2 separate regions of the Homo sapiens genome follow, and region 2 is linked to region 1. The links are contacts of gene promoters, found by promoter capture Hi-C in human tissues and cell types (Jung and others, 2019). All regions are on one chromosome and are shown on one strand. The core of a region is centred on a gene start or on the middle of the fragment in contact, and the rest is flanking DNA. Distances in the headings are between cores, read along the strand shown.

Region 1 (4,412 bases), core at 481-2,980:
ATTTACCATAGAGTATTTGAGCAGTGAAGACTCATAGCATTTGGAAGTCATTTAGAAAAGAATCTGGAATATTTAGATGCATTTTTGTAGTAAATCTGGTGCTTAAACACTGTAAAATTAAATATTTACATCTGAATCCAGCATCCCATTTTGCTTTGTAAATGAGGCCAAAGATGAAATCCAGATGTTTTCCCTTGTATTTGTATTATCACTATATGGAATCTAAGTATATCTAAGAAAAACTAAACTTAAACTTACTTTGCTTATTTCATATTAGTTTTTATCTGTCTTCTGCAGTGTGTAATTAGATTCTTTAGTTTTCTGAATCAAATGCTTTGCCCCAACCCCTTTTTCCACGACTTTTTTCAGCTGTTTTCCCTTGAAATACTGACTTGGCTTTTAAAGATACATTTTATCACAATTGCAGAAATGTGTTGTATAAAAGTTTGTTAAACAGGGCTAACTGAAGTCTTAGATGTTGAACAGCTATGTGTAACCACAATTTATACTACTTGCAGCGAACTCAGATTATTTTCGGATGTTAAGTATGGCTTGAAACTATGTTAACTTGAAATGTAAAGAAACAGCAAAAGACAGGTGTATTTACCTAAAGATCACATATTAAGGAAACAGGCTTGGTTAATTCCTCACTATTGACATCTATTACTTGTCAATACATTTAACCAACCAATGATACTTTAAATCATAATGTTACTTTGAACAACCTACTTTAAAAGGTTGGTTCAAAAATGTTGAGGAGATAATGTATTGGTTGGGATTGACCTAAATTTACAAAGCAACCATGTGCTGTCTTATGCTACCCAGATTGTGGGAGCACCAAAAGCTATGTCCCTAGGACTACAAAGTGTGTTGTTTAAGGATCTTGCAGAGAGCCAATGCCCCTATTGGCAACATCACTTCTCATCCTTAAGTTTCACCAGTTGGGTGGCCTCAAGGCACTAGGATTCCCATTTTTTTTTTTATTCAGGTCAGAGAAGAGTCCATCACTGTGACTGGGAAGAATGTCAAGTCACAGGGTAACGGCGGACCTTAATAAAATCTCGGCCCCTCTGCACCGAATACCCCACCAGGAAGGGCTAAGGCATCCATGGGGTTGTGTCTCATCTCAAGTCGCTGTGTGAAGCACGAGGCCCTCACACCTCATTTAAGGCAGGAGGCGTCAGGGGCGACCGGCCAGGTGTCCCGGCGCCTTCCCGCCGCTTCTCAGCCGTGGAAGCGCGGGCATCTGAGCACGTGGAGCCGCCCCAGGCCGCCCCGCACACCCCTCCCGCCAGATGTAGTCCAGGCCCAGCTGGGCCCGCGCAGGGATCCCCAGCACGGCCACCTGACTGAGTGCTGGGCGTGCTGCGGCCCGCTGCTTCTGCCTCCGCCGCCGGCGCTGCGGCCAGAGGAAGGCGCCCGCCGAGCACACGGGCCCCGGGAGCGCACTGCGGCCATTATCCGCGGCGCCTCCTAGTGGGTCAATGGCAAATCCGCCTGGTTCTCGCGAGAGCTCCCCCCTCAGTGGGGATTATATAATTTCCCTCAAGCGGGGGTGGGGGTGCTGAGAGCACCCTCCCTCAGGAAAAGTTAGGTGCAAGCAGGGGTGGGAGTAAGAGGAACCCCCCCTGGGGAAAAGGGGGTTAGGGGTGCTGTCCCCACTGCCCCCCCCTATTTAGCTGGACAATGAGTCCTCTTATGCTAATGAGGCACTTACGTCACTTCCGCTCTTTCTCGGCCGCCATTTTGGCTAGGGCAGGTTCGGGGACTCGGTCCGAGGCGCTTGTATTGTCTGCTGAGGGGAGACGCGGGATCAGCCCCCTCCCCCGCCCGTTGCCGCCGCCGCCTCCGCCGGCCCGGTCTCCCCTCCGCCGCCCGCCGGGATCCATGAGCTGAACTCCCGCCCCCCCCCCCCCGGCCGCCGCCATCTTGTGCCCCCTCCCCCTCCCGCAGGCAGCGCTAAGGGGGATTTTGGCGTCTTCTCAGACACAGCTCCCTCTCTCGGTCCCCGCTGCTGAGGAGCGAGAGGAGCGCGGCCGCCGCCGCCCGCGCCGGTGAAGCCGCCTCTCCCACACCCTCCGTCTCCTCCCTCCGCCCCTCCTTTGTCTGCACCGCTCGACGACGCCGCCGCCGCCCGCCGCTCTGCTGCGCCCGCCGCGCCCCCCGGCAGCACCCGCGGCCGCGGCGCGAGCCGGAGTCCGCCGAGCCGGAGCGCGACGAGGCCCCGGGCGCGCCCTCCCCGCTGCCGCCACCGCCGTGCCGCCGCCATCCGCCCGCCGCCGCCGCCGCTGTCCGGCCCCCGAGCACGCCGGCCCCGCGCGCGCCTCGAGGCCGAGTCAAGGTAAGCCCGGCGCCGCCGCGCGCGGACCCGCGGCCCTGCCCTGCCTGGCTTCCCGACCCCGGCCCGCGCGGCCGCCAGTGCAGCCTGGCCCCGGGCGCGGGCGCATTGTTGTTCGCATCGCCGCCCTCCAGCCGCACACACGCTCCTTTGCACACCCCGGCGCCGACGGGTCCCCCGTCCCGGCACGGACCGCTACCCGACTCTGCTCCGGAGGTCCAGGCGCCTCCTCCTGCAGCCCGACCCCCTTCTCCGCCCTGTGAGCCCACCGAGGCCAGCACTCTGCCTGGCCGCCCGGAGCTTTTGCAGCTAAGGGCATCTCCCCCAGCCAGAACCGAGCTTCTCCCATCCTGGAACTAATCCCGTCCGCCCCCCACCCCCAAAAGGAGCCCCCCCACGCACACCCCCATGCCTTGAACCAGCCTTCTGCCAGGTCTGCCCACCCTTACCTGGGGGAGGGGGGACGGGGTTGGGGGGGGCGGGGAGCATGCATGGCATGGAGTGAGTCTTTGCCTCCCCTGTGCAATCCTTCTTCCCCAACCTGCCAGCTTTCCTCTTATCCTGACCACAGTTCACCACCATCCCTTTTCCCCAATCTCAGCTGCCTGGTCAGCACCTCTTTCGAACATTCTGAGCCCCAACTTTGCAGTAAGGTGGTAGAAAATGGAAATCCAGAGAGCTGCAAAAAGATTTTTTTTTAATGTAATGAATGGGGAGTAGTTTTGTGAACACACTCGTATTCACCTCTTCTTTCCTCTGGGAGGCCTGCCTGCCTTCCCCTCCCCCCCAACCTTGATCCCTGTCTGCTGGAAAAGGCGCGATTGCTTCTCTTCCTCTTCTGCCCAAGACCAAGACTCTAGGTCTGATATCCTTTTTAGCCACACACACACACCCCCCACACACGAAGTCTTCTTAATCTTCTTGAATTTACCAGTTACTCTGGACACTTCTTGCCATAACCCCATTTCACAGACAAAGGCTTAGGAGGGAAAAAGAACCAAACTGTTTCTGTGTTTGTCATGTTAATGATGTCCATCCCCACACACCCAGTTCCCATCCCTGATGCTTCTTGTGCCTGTATCTTGAACCTTCAGAATGAAAAAAAAAAAAATCTCTTGGATAGCTTGATACAGTTTCTTTAGAAATCTGCATTGTTGCTTCTGGTTTATGGCCATGGAGAAAATACCAGCCCCCACCCAAAATGCACCGCAGCCAAGTCGGCTAAAGGCGATGAGTGTTGGAGTCAGTAGGGGGCGCATTCTCTGCACTGGGTAAGGCTGCAGAGGGGGGAAGGGCCCCCGAGCTAGAACAGGATGTGCTTCACAGCGCCTTCTACAGACCATGGGAAAATGGGCCCAGCAAGACACACTCGCACTCTTAGTTGGTGAGCTGACAGCAACATGGCGAAGGATTAAGTGAGTCAAGAGCAGTGATTTTACTTCTTTTAAAGAGCCCACCCTGCATTTTAGAAGTTTTCTCCTTTTACTTTTTCAAAACTGTTGGCCCCCAGTCCATATTTGTTCTTGACGAATCACCTTGGCACATCCTTGGTTCGGATTCCCTTCCTCTGGAGTTCTTCCACCTCAAGTTTTGAATGTGTCACCATATCTTTCCTAAGTCTGGTGGTAAAGGAGAAGGTTTGAAACAAAGTAACAGGTTTGGGGGCATAGCTGGTTAACTCCCTTCTTCATAGGCCAAATCTTTCCAATTCTTTGAGAGTTAAAAATCATTCTTGAGAGATGTTGGATTAAGTGTGTAGATGGGTGTCATGATTTGCAAAGCCTTGTTGGTAAACATCAAGCCCATGTTGGGTTCTTCATTGTCGAACTCAAGTGTTGATTGTAAAAATTTCGTTTCCCTCCAAATTTGGACTTGTAATTGCCATTCATTATCTCAGCAGCCAACCACCTTTACAAAAATGTTGATACCAGTCTTCTGTGAGCACCCACCTTCTTAGGGTGTGTTGATTTCCATAGATTTTACTCCTCTTGTTATTTCCATAGGTGTGAGATGCACAATGCGAAACCTAGGCCCCAGCTTTTACACCATGATGCGCAGGGTTGTACTTTTTGTA
Region 2 (4,412 bases), core at 1,159-3,658, 620 kb before region 1:
TGTCCTCATCACTCCCTGACTTCAAAGATTAGGAAATCGGTACAGATGTTTGAGTCTGCAAAGAATATGGCAGGGAAGAGAATGGAGAGAGAAATGATCTTGGGGCATACAGGGGAAGACAGCTTGGGTGACTGAGGGGGGACAGTGGGCCGACGGTGACAGGTACATTGAGTGAGAAATGATTGTGGGGATGGGCAGATATTAACCAATACTCTATCCCCTAACGAACCAGCCCTACCCACCCTGCCCCTTGAGGTTCTACCTTGGTAGAAGATGGAGCCTCCCTGGCAGAGGGATGGCGGCATCTCCTGTTCAGTTAAGATCAAGGACCGTCGTTTAAGGGGGAGGCAGGTTTACTGAGCCTGCCCTCCCTCTTTTTTTTTTTTTTTTTTGAGATGGAGTCTTGCTCTGTCGCCCAGGCTGGAGTGCAGTGGCATGATCTCGGCTCACTGCAAGCTCCTGCCTTCCAGGTTCATGCCATTCTCCTGCCTCAGCCTCCCGAGTAGCTGGAACTACAGGCACCTGCCACCATGCCCGGCTAATTTTTTGTATTTTTAGTAGAGACGGGGTTTCACCGTGTTAGCCAGGATGGTCTCGATCTCCTGACCTCGTGATCCGCCCACCTCGGCCTCCCAAAGTGCTGGGATTACAGGCGTGAGCCACCGCGCCCAGCACGCCTGCCCTCCTTCTAAACGTTTTTACCCAAGACAGAGGGGAACGTGCTAGAAAGCAAGGAACAAAGAGGAGAAACAAAACCAGGGCAAAGTAGTTGTGCGGGGACCAGGTGGAAGGAATCAAGACTCTGCAGCCCAGGCGCTCAAGCTCACAGGCTCCCGGCAGGTGGAACAAATGAATGAGGAAGACAGGTGGGGGCTGGGGCAAACGGAGGAGGGCATCCCCAGGGAACAGCCTCTACTCACCTCCAGCCGATTGGTCCATACGGGAATGTAGGCCTGGAGTGGCGGGATCTGCCTGCCTTTTTTTTTTAAGAAGTTGGAATTTTGGACTTTTATGTGAAATCTCCCAATTTAAAAATGTTAGTTCGACATGGACACAGGGAGGAGAACAAGAAGCACTGGGGCCTTGCCAGGAAGGTGCGGGAGGGAGAGCATCAGGATAAATAGCTAATGCATGTGGGGCTTAGTACCTAGGTGATGGGTTGATGGGTGCAGCAAACCACCATGACACATGTTTACTGATGTAACAAACCTGCACGTCCTGCACATGTATCCCAGAACTTAATATATAATTAAAAAAAATAAAAATATTAGTTCAGATTAAAAATAAATTACTGGGCAGGCCAAACATAATATGCCTGCAGGATGGACTTGGTGGAGCTCCTGCAGACCTGTGACTTCTACTGCTGTCAAATGGGGCATCTTCCTACAGTCCACCCGTTGATTTGGGTGTTGGCTTTTAGTAGAACCCTGCTGTCTTACGAGGTACTGATGGCCATCAGTGCCTGCCCAGTGGGAGGGTGGCATATTCAACTAACGGCCTTTTGCTGCAATCCCCTCTTGGAAAATAGTTTTCTCACAACAGAGAAGTCCTCTTCGGGCTTTAAAAGACTCTGTAGGAGATGATAGATTGGAGTGCAAGTCAGGTTTGAAACTGTCTTGTTTTCTCAATCTATAAGGAGCTCATCCCTAAAAATGGCTTTGCAAGAGCATGAGGAAGCCAATGAGGCATTTGGGGGAGCAAAATGCAAGAAATTCAGTAATCAGGATGAACTATATGTATATATATATACACACACAGACACACATACATATATGAAATGTATATATATTTGAGACAGGTACTTGCTCTGTCACCTGGGCTGGAGTGCAGTGGCACGAACACGGCTCACTGCAGCGTCAGCCTCCTGGGCTCAAGCCATCCTCCTGTTTCAGCTTCATAAAGATGGGGTGTCACTATGTTGCCCAGGCTGGTCTTGAACTCCTGGGCTCAAGCGATCCTCCCACCTTGGCCTCCCAAAATGTTGGGATTACAGGCGTAAGCCCAGGATGAACCATATTTTAATACACATTTTTTTTTTTTTGAGATGGAGCCTCGCTCTGTCGCCCAGGCTGGAGTGCAGTGGCGTGATCTCAGCTCACTGCAAGCTCCACCTCCCAGGTTCATGCCATTCTCCTCCCTCAGCCTCCCGAGTAGCTGGGACTACAGGCACCCGCCACCACACCCGGCTAACTTTTTGTATTTTTAGTAGAGATTGGGTTTCACCATGTTAGCCAGGATGGTCTTGATCTCCTGACCTCATGATCCGCCCACCTTGGCCTCCCAATGTGCTGGGATTACAGGCATGAGCCACTGTGTGCGACCTAATATAATATTTTTAAAACAAAATTTTTGTTTTAAAATTTTGGCTTATCATGCCAAAACTCCATGATAAGCTTTTTTTAAAAAGGCCAGATGCGGTAGCTTGAGCCCAGGAGTTCGAGACCAACCTAGGCAACATAGTGAGACCTTGTCTCTCCAGAAAAAAAAAAAAAAAAAAAATAGCAGGGCATGGTGGCAGGAGCCTGTAGCCCCAGCTACTAGGAGGCTGAGGTGAGCGGATCATCTGAGCTGGGGAGGTTGAAGCTGCAGTGAGCCATGCTCTCGCCACTGCACTCCATCCTGGGTGACTGAGTGGGACCCTGTCTCAAAAAAAATAAATAAATAAAAATGTTAAATAAAGACAAGATCAACATTACTCATTTTCCCTGTGGCCTTAGGGTGCAGTGTGGCTCACATGGACTGTTACTGACCCTGTCTTTATTAAAATTATAATAGCTTGTTCAGCGAGGATTTTTTTTTGCATTCATTTTGATGTTTTAAAACATGGTGTGAAGATATAATTTATCTAATTACTGAGTTTTTGGTGCCCTCTTTCATTTTACCTCTCTTGCCTCACCTTAGTGCCAGCCTTGCTGGAGTCAAATGCATCTGTGTATAAGTTATATATTAACACCTAGAGTGATCATGAGTCCCAGGGAATGCTTCCGTTGAAGGGAGATGGTTTTTGGAGTCTGGTAAAGAATGTTCCCACTTTTTGAATCCAACTTAAAACGTTTCAATGCCTGCCTTTTATAAGCAGTGTTTTATTATAATGGGAGGTTGTTAGGACATGGAGTTCATGATGAAAATGTGTGACTTATGTGTTATACAGATGGTCTCTGACTTATGATGTTTGACTTAGGCTTTCTTTACGATGGTGTGAAAGCGATATGAGTTCAGTAGAAACTGTACTTTGGGTACCCATAAACCATTCTGTTTTTCTCTTTTGGTATAGTATTCAATAAATTACAGAAGATATTCAACACCTCATTATAAAGTAGTCTTTGTGTTGGGTTATTTTGCCTAAAATCAATTGCGTAGGTGACTGTAAATGTTCTGAGCATGTTTAAGGTAGGCTAGACTAAGCTATGGTGTTCAGTGGGTTAAGCATATTAAATGCATTTTCTTTGTATTTATTATTATTATTATTATTATTTGAGATGGAGTTTCGCTCTTGTCACCCAGGCTGGAGTACAATGGCGCAATCTCGGCTCACTGCAACCTCCACCTCCCAGGTTCAAGCGATTCTCCTGCCTCAGCCTCCCGAGTAGCTGGAATTACAGGCGCCCACCACCATGCCTGGCTATTTTTTGTATTTTTAGTAGAGACGGGGTTTCACCACATTGGCCAGGCTGGTCTCGAACTCCTGACCTTAGGTGATCCACCCACCTTGGCTTCCCAAAGTCCTGGGATTACAGGCTTGCATGAGCCACCGTGCTTGGCCTATTATTATTATTTTTTAGACATGGGGTCTTACTCTTTTGGAATGCAGTGGTGCGATCATGGCTCACTGCAGCCTCAAGCTCCTGGGCTCAAATGGGAGCCCGGCTAATGTATTTTTATTTTTCATAGAGACAGGATCTTACTATGTTGCCTAGGCTGGTCTCAAACTCCTGGCCTCAGGCCATCCTCCTGCCTCAGCCTCCCAAAGTGCTGGGATTATAGACGTGAGCCACCATGCCCTGCCTAAATGCATTTTCAACCCAACAATATGTTCAGTGTATCATGGGTATATTGGGATATCACCCACCATAAGTTGAGGAGCACTTGTACACTATCAGAGCCGGCTACATAATTTTCAGGGCATTGTGCGAAATGAAAATGCATCGCCTCTTGTTCAAAAAGTATTCAGAATTTAAAAAATGTCAACAGCAGAGCATTCAACCAAGTGCAGGCTCCTTCTAAGCACAGGTTATTCCAGGTGCGGAATGCCGTGTGACTCTGCATGTCACATCCCATGAAGCGAGCCCCGGCTGCTACTCAGATTAGCTTGGTTTTCCTTGTTAAACAATCCTTGAATTTTAGAGCTGAAATGGTAACTCAGGTATTATCTAATTCATCTCTTCCCATTTTACAGACAGAGAAACTGAGGC

Evidence for each region. The method cuts DNA at HindIII sites, captures the fragments that hold promoters and counts their contacts. A contact is called where the count stands out against the background at its distance.
Region 2: a fragment that was not itself captured here is called in contact with the fragment with the promoter of ADNP in region 1 in 1 of the 25 tissues and cell types used here (dorsolateral prefrontal cortex).

Annotation. Positions count from the first base shown.
Region 1 is chr20:50,928,755-50,933,166 of GRCh38, reverse strand. ADNP (activity dependent neuroprotector homeobox) reads left to right here and starts at 1,730. Exons shown (of 6, transcript NM_001282531.3): 1 at 1,730-2,341; 2 at 4,342-4,412. ADNP-AS1 (ADNP antisense RNA 1) reads right to left here and starts at 2,183. Exons shown (of 3, transcript NR_110009.1): 1 at 2,113-2,183; 2 at 1,718-1,792. RefSeq lists silencers at 1,242-1,421, 1,285-1,472, 1,772-1,991, 2,142-2,191, 2,332-2,511 and 2 more and enhancers at 1,572-1,691, 2,111-2,901. The HindIII fragment of the contact is 17,322 bases long and covers 1-4,412 here.
Region 2 is chr20:51,549,656-51,554,067 of GRCh38, reverse strand. It overlaps a transcript of NFATC2 not described here. Among named protein-coding and RNA genes, the nearest start is that of NFATC2, 9.1 kb to the right of the region's middle. The HindIII fragment of the contact is 5,436 bases long and covers 1-4,412 here.